Linked DNA regions of Homo sapiens: region 1 is linked to region 2. Evidence: promoter capture Hi-C in 16 types of primary human blood cells and fetal thymus (Javierre and others, 2016). All regions are on one chromosome and are shown on one strand. The core of a region is centred on a gene start or on the middle of the fragment in contact, and the rest is flanking DNA. Distances in the headings are between cores, read along the strand shown.

What was found. Contacts are between HindIII fragments. The CHiCAGO score rates a contact against its expected background, and 5 or more counts as called.
Region 1: the fragment with the promoter of WWP1 here is called in contact with the fragment with the promoter of OSGIN2 in region 2 in 1 of 17 cell types (non-activated CD4 T cells); the score reaches 5.7 in non-activated CD4 T cells.

The regions. Positions count from the first base shown.
Region 1 is chr8:86,340,661-86,343,809 of GRCh38, forward strand. It overlaps WWP1 (WW domain containing E3 ubiquitin protein ligase 1), which reads left to right and starts at 1,887. Exons shown (of 25, transcript NM_007013.4): 1 at 1,887-2,270. WWP1-AS1 (WWP1 antisense RNA 1) reads right to left here. Exons shown (of 6, transcript XR_007060994.1): 2 at 2,930-3,000; 3 at 2,422-2,616. RefSeq lists a silencer at 1,978-2,437. The HindIII fragment of the contact is 10,725 bases long and covers 1-3,149 here.
Region 2 is chr8:89,900,832-89,903,968 of GRCh38, forward strand. OSGIN2 (oxidative stress induced growth inhibitor family member 2) reads left to right here and starts at 1,739. Exons shown (of 6, transcript NM_001126111.3): 1 at 1,739-2,006. The coding sequence starts at 1,963. It overlaps LOC124901974 (a long non-coding RNA gene), which reads right to left and starts at 1,575. Exons shown (of 2, transcript XR_007061001.1): 1 at 1,188-1,575. RefSeq lists enhancers at 1-383, 384-1,149 and silencers at 1,443-1,741, 1,491-1,830, 1,861-2,310. The HindIII fragment of the contact is 4,461 bases long and covers 1-3,137 here.

The DNA.
Region 1 (3,149 bases), core at 637-3,136, 3.6 Mb before region 2:
CAATGCAGTAATAAAATATATTTTGTAGTATTATTTTATGGAAGATGAGGCCCACACAGGTATAAGCACCTAGGGCCTGTGAAAGTCAGAATGTGGCACTGGGTGGCAGAGCTGTGTTTTGATGCTGGGCGATGTGATACCTGAGCCTATGCTCTTTCTGGAAGGTAGTTGCCAATATGTTTCAAAAGGGCTAAACTTGTTCATACTTTTTTATTACTTTTAATAATTTATCTAAGACAGTTAATAAGGACATGAACAATGGTTATGGAATACTATTTATAATATTGTTCATTTGAAACCAAACAGTCAATAACAAAAGGCTGGTTCAATATTGGGTGTCAGCTTGAGGACTAGGTGAGTACTAAGAGCTTCTGAACGGGGAGGAAATTGAGCAATGAGGGGAGCTGAAAGTGAGACACAGAGCAGGAAGAGGAGGCCTGCATGCATTCTGGAGAAGGAGTCCAGATCCCTGCTGGGGAATACCTACGGAATTTCTGAGGACGTGTTTGTAAGCACATTATTGCATCTATTTAAAGGGACCAGACAGCAAAAGCAAAAAGATGAAGAAAATCTTAGTACATGTTTAAAGCAGAGATGAGTGGGCACATATGGGGCACTGTGAAGAGTTTTTCATAACAGGAGAGATAGAGCATGTGAGCATCAAAGGAACCTTGAATATCACGTTAATCTTTGTCAGGAGAGCTCCGAAAAGCCAAAGAATGATTTTAAGCAGTGGAATGACACAGATGTATATTTTCGAATGATCTTTGTGGATATAATGTGCACCAATTTCAACTATGAAGCCAGAGGACAAGAACTAATGCATGGAGGTAGGCGGGAATGTGCATTGTTCAGTCAAGAGATACTTGTTGAATTCTGTACACACTCATGAAGTGTTGGGGTTGTTTTTGGTACACAGTTCTTTCAAAAAGCTCAGTTAAAATGGAAGGGGAGAGAGAACCAGAGGTTTTAAAATCAAGGGAAAATTTAGGACCTAATCTTAAAACGTGATTATGCTGAGGAGTTGTAGGCAGTGGAGAGGGTGAAGTTAAAGATGTGCCAAGGACCGCCCACAGTGGGGAGCAGGCAGTGGAGAGGAGCAGGGACATCTAGCCTCCGAGATAGAAGGAAAACTAGTAAGTCTGGGTGTGGACGTAGATATAATCTATGGGGGTTGGTCAGGTGGTTGGGCAAAAGCTGTAGAAATCCATGCCTGAAGGCTTCTGCTTCTCTGAAGTAGAAACCGGGTCACCTGGTAAGCAATGTGGTCCCACTGACTTCTATTTGCACATTGGCCTTTCTTCTAAAAGCAATACACATAACCAACAGTACTTTTCTAAACTAGTTGACTTTTCTGTAAAATGCAGACAGTAGACACTACTTTGTCAGATTGTTGTGTGCGTTAATTGTGCGGACACGTATACTCGGTCAATAAGTATCTGCTTTATCACCGGGCTGATGTGAGTGAGGACTAGGTGGTGGGGCTTCCACAGATGAACGTTTTGATTAATAAAAAATGGACTGAAAGTCTTCGGGTATGACCAATGGCTAAATGCAATTATTTACTCTTGCAATGTGTTCGAGGTCACCCAGCTAGGTCAAGGAGTATTTATGGACAGCCTACTTTTGCCCCCGGACCTTAAGAAGTCCTGCTCCGGGATCAGCCGCCGACCGGAAAGTCAAATTAGCAGTGCCCAGCGCGAGCTTAGAGCAGCCTCTTCCCAAATCTCAGCGGCGGCCCCGCCCCTTCCACACGTTCAGGCCCCGCCCCTCCCTACTATTGGCTGTCCGTCCCCCTCCGCTAGACTGCTCGGAAGACCCGGAGGAGCGGAGTTTTCCTAAGGCAGCATCCGAGCGCCCTCGCTGCGCATGCTCGGGGGAGGCGGATTCCGGGTCCGGAGTTGGAGGCTTTGGGCGGCCGCGGCGTAGCGCGCGGTGCCGGGGCCGGCGGGGAGGCGCGCGCTTAGGGCGCGGCGCCGGCGACGCGGCCACGCGGCGCGCTCCCGAGGAAGGGAGGTGTGGGGTCGGCTGGGGGTGGCGCGTGGACGGGGTGGGGGTGGGGGGAGGGTCGGGTGTCGGCGAGCTCCGCGTGCGGGTTCCGAGTGGCTGCTGGCGGCCTGGGCTGCCGGGGCCGACGCCTGGGTGGCTGCTGCCGCCGCGCCTGCTGCGAGATGGCGATCTTGGGCGCGGAAGGGTGAGGGCGCCCGCCGCAGGAGGAGGTGCCGCTGCCGTGGCCGCCCGGCTGCCGGGAGCCGACAGCTTCGCGCCGGGTAAGGACGGCGCGGCGCGGGGCTGGGGGTGCGAATGGGCAGGGCGGGAGGGGGCACGGGCCCTGAGCCTTGGCCGCGGTGCTGGGCGCCCGGCGCCGTCCGCCCCCGGGCTGGACCCTCCTAGGACCCGTCGGGGGACGGTCCGCCCTACCTTGGCTACCTTCTCCAGCCCGGGAGTCGGGAGTTTTCTGGGGTGGGGTCACGGGTCTTGCCCGGAGTTCGCCCTGGCAAAGGCCTGTGCCAGTGATCCTGGAGCGGAGCGAAGTGTTTCCGTGACTCTGCAGCCGCAGTTCTTAGGCTTCCTTAGCCTTCTCTTCGCCTTCCTCCACCTTTCCCTAACACCTCCCTGAAAACACAAATACATGGACTCATTGCCCGTTCCCTGACTTTCACCCCAATTTCAGCGTTGCAAACCAAGGACTCCAGCTTTGGAACGTCTTTTTCTGACATGTTTTTATCACTCTCCGTTCTTCACCGACTCTGCAGCTCCCCATCCCCCGCCCCCCCAGCGCAACCCCCACCTCCACCTTTTGTGACCTGGTAGGTTCCAGTGACCTTGCAGATTTTACCAGTCCTTATCTTGTCTGTGACTTACAGACTCTCCTTTCATCTTCGTGTTCTTTTTTTAAAAAAATTTAATTTTGTAGTTTGCTCCTTACCTTTACGACCTTTAAATGATCAGTCTTGTTCACAGTCCTTTCTTTGCTCTGCCGATTTGGAGTTTTCTCTGCTGTGGTAAATATATGAAACCTTCATTACCAAAGAAGAGTAGTGTCTGTTATAATTTTGACATTTTTACTCTTTCAGAATAAAATATTTTCCAGGGGCTTGATTTTGCCTTCTTTTTCTATTTGATAAGTTTAACAAATTTTTTTCTGT
Region 2 (3,137 bases), core at 489-2,988:
AGGAATGTAGGTACTTTATTTATTTATTTTTGAGACGGAGTCTCGCTCTGTCGCCCAGGCTGGAGTGCAGTGGCGCGATCTTAGCTCACTGCAAGCTCCGCCTCCCGGGTTCACGCCATTCACCATGGTCTCGATCTCCTGACCTCGTGATCTGCCCGTCTCGGCCTCCCAAAGTGCTGGGATAACAAGCGTGAGCCACCGCGCCCGGCCAGGTACTTTATTATTATTTTTTGATACGGAGTCTCACTCTTTGGCCCAGGCTGAGTGCAGTGGCGCGATCTCAGCTCACTGCAACCTCCGCCTCCCGGTTTCAAGCGATTCTCCTGCATCAGGCTCTTGAGTAGCTGGGATTACAGGCGCGTGCCACCACGCCCGGGGCTAGGTTTTGTATTTTTAGTAGAAACGGGTTTCACCATGTTGGTCAGGCTGGTCTGGAACTTCTGACCTCAGGTGATCCGTCCGCCTCGGCCTTCCAAAAGGAATTTAGGTACTTTAAAATGCTGTTATGTATGTTAACGGAAAAGTAACTACATGCTTCATTTTCAGAACCAACATTCAAATGAAATGAACGTGTCAAATCGACAAAAGCTCAAAAAAGAGAAAAACATATAATACTTAAAAGTGGTTAATATACTCTTAGATTGCATAACTCTGGGGCAGTCTGAGTCCTATGATTTTCTTTTAAGACCCCAAGACTCTAAAATACCTGCTCATCACAAGTTTGTTCAGTGACAACATTCAGTAAAACTTAACATTTGTTTTACAAAATTATGTTGAAAGATATAAACATAAACGTATATTTGAAGCACAAAAATAATTACGGCTTTTTTTGGAAGCGGAGTTAGACATTTCCGTAGAAAAGTAGATGCAATCAATCTCTCCTGATTTTTGTCCTCCCCACCTTTAATTTTTGACAAACCGAATAACGACACTCACTATTGAGTACTTTTCTAACTCCCTATTGCATCACAAACGCCCGCAGGGGCTTAAAAAGCAGCAGGGGTTCCTGCCCTTCCCCACACTGGCCGGTGTGGTCTGGGGCGGGCCTGATGAGCACCTGGATTTTCACCCGGCGTGCTGGTAATTCCTACACTTGTGGGTGTTTGAGAGACATGAAGAGGGGAGGATGACCTCTTCCCGGAAGCGGGACTTCCATAAAAGAAGCGTGGTGGGCGGGTCCCGGGCACCTGTGGTTTGGTGAGTCCTCCAGGTAACTGTGATGCGGGGGTCAGCGGGAGAGGCACCCGGAAGCTCCCGGCGTCTGCACCCCGGCAGCGCGAGGAAATGCCCAAAGGTGGGTTCTCAGGCGTGGGAAGCTCGACCCTTCCCGGGGTCCTCGGCGAAGTGGCCGAGGCCGCGCCTTACGCAGGGAACTCCGCCGGGCCATCTGGGTGGCCCGAGTTCGCAGCAGCTTCTCTTCCGCTCGTCCCTCGGCCCTCTCGACGCGCACCCACCGGCCTCACCAAGTCGCACGCAGAGGGGCGGCGGGGCGCTGACCGAGGTCTAGGTCTCGATTGCCGCCGGTCGAGCCGCGCAGTTTGCCTGCAGACCTCGGTCCCCTGCCCGCGCAGCCTCGGCTCCATCAGGCCCGGCCCCTCGCCCGGGCCGTGGCTCCACCAATCGCAGACTTCGCCCGCCGCAGCCGCACCTGCGAGGAGGGGCCCGCGCGCCGCTGCAGCCGCCGTCGCAGCGTCCCCGCCCCGCTCCGCCCCTATCGCGGCGCCCCGAGATCACCCGCCTCCGGCGCCTGGCTCCCTGCAGGCGAGGAGCGGAAGCCGCTATCTGGAGGCGGACTCCGGCGCCACAGAGCCGGGGCAGCCGCGGCAACGGCGAGGCGCGAGGCAGGGGCGCCCGGCAGACCCCGCGACCCCGAGCCAGCGGGCGCCCCGAGCGGGCAGCCTCGCCGGGGGAGGCGGAGGCGGCCACGGCGGCCGCGCTCGGGCGCCCCTCGCGCAGCGCTCCATGCCCGTGTGGTGCTGCCGCTGCTCCCTGGCCGGTCATTTCAGGTGACTTCCTCGCCGGGGATGGGAGGGGAGCAGGCGGGGATGCCGCGCTCTCGAGCTTTTTGGCCTGGCCCGGGCCGGGACCGGGGTGGAGGGCGAGCGCCTGGACCGCAGCGTCCTCCCGCCTCGGCCGTCCTGCCTGGCGTGGGGGTGGGGTGGGGTGCGGTGTGGTGGGGTCCTTGCTCCGGGGAGCCCTGCGCTGTTCCCTTTTCTCGCTCTGGACCGCGCGGGTCACGGGACTGCGGGATCGGCTAGGCCGGACTGAGTCGGTTACGGCGAGCTGAGACTTCCCAGTAGTGCAAAGTTTTAGTGAAGGGGGTTCTACGAAGTGCCTGCCTCCCTAAAAAAAAATTATTTCTTAAAAAGTCTTCTAAATAATGTAATGAGTGGAAGGAAGGTAGGGAACTACATTTCAGTGTCATCTAATCACAAATAGATTCTGCCTTGTTAAGATGTTAGCCATGGTAAGACGTGTGTGTTGTAGAAATTTAAAGAATGAGGCGGTTTTACAATCACCTTATGGGGAAAGGTTTTAGGGGTGATAAAATATAATACATTTCTAAAATAAAAGTATGTTTTCTAGATCTAGCACATTTGGTCAACACCTCAGTCATTGGTGGAAAGACCAGACACTAGAAACTGATTTTAACCCTGGGGTGAAGAATGGTTAAGCATAGGGAATACTTTAGTACCTTGCTTTACATATACTGATGTTCCAGAATAATTCTATGTAAGACTTCTTCCCTGGTAAAATATGAAATTTTGATCAAGCCTTCCTAAATAGTGGGTTTCATACAATTTAGGTAACCCATGAACTTGGATGGAAAGAAAGGTATATCATTTCACTAAATTTTAAAAACTAATATTCAGTTAAAATATAAGCAACAAATCACAGTAGTATCTGTGACTGTCATCAGTAGAGATCATAAAATATGTTTATATCACATTGCAGTTAATATAGAAATACTGTTTATACTTATTCAAAATTATAGTAACACATCACTGAATTTATTGAATGCAACAGAGAAGCACATATATATATCGCGTTTACTTTTTATGACTGTTTTAATAGAATTAGTTTTCTTGTAAATCCTGTGTATATTTAAGAACAGTATTCAGAGAAGAGGTTAAGAA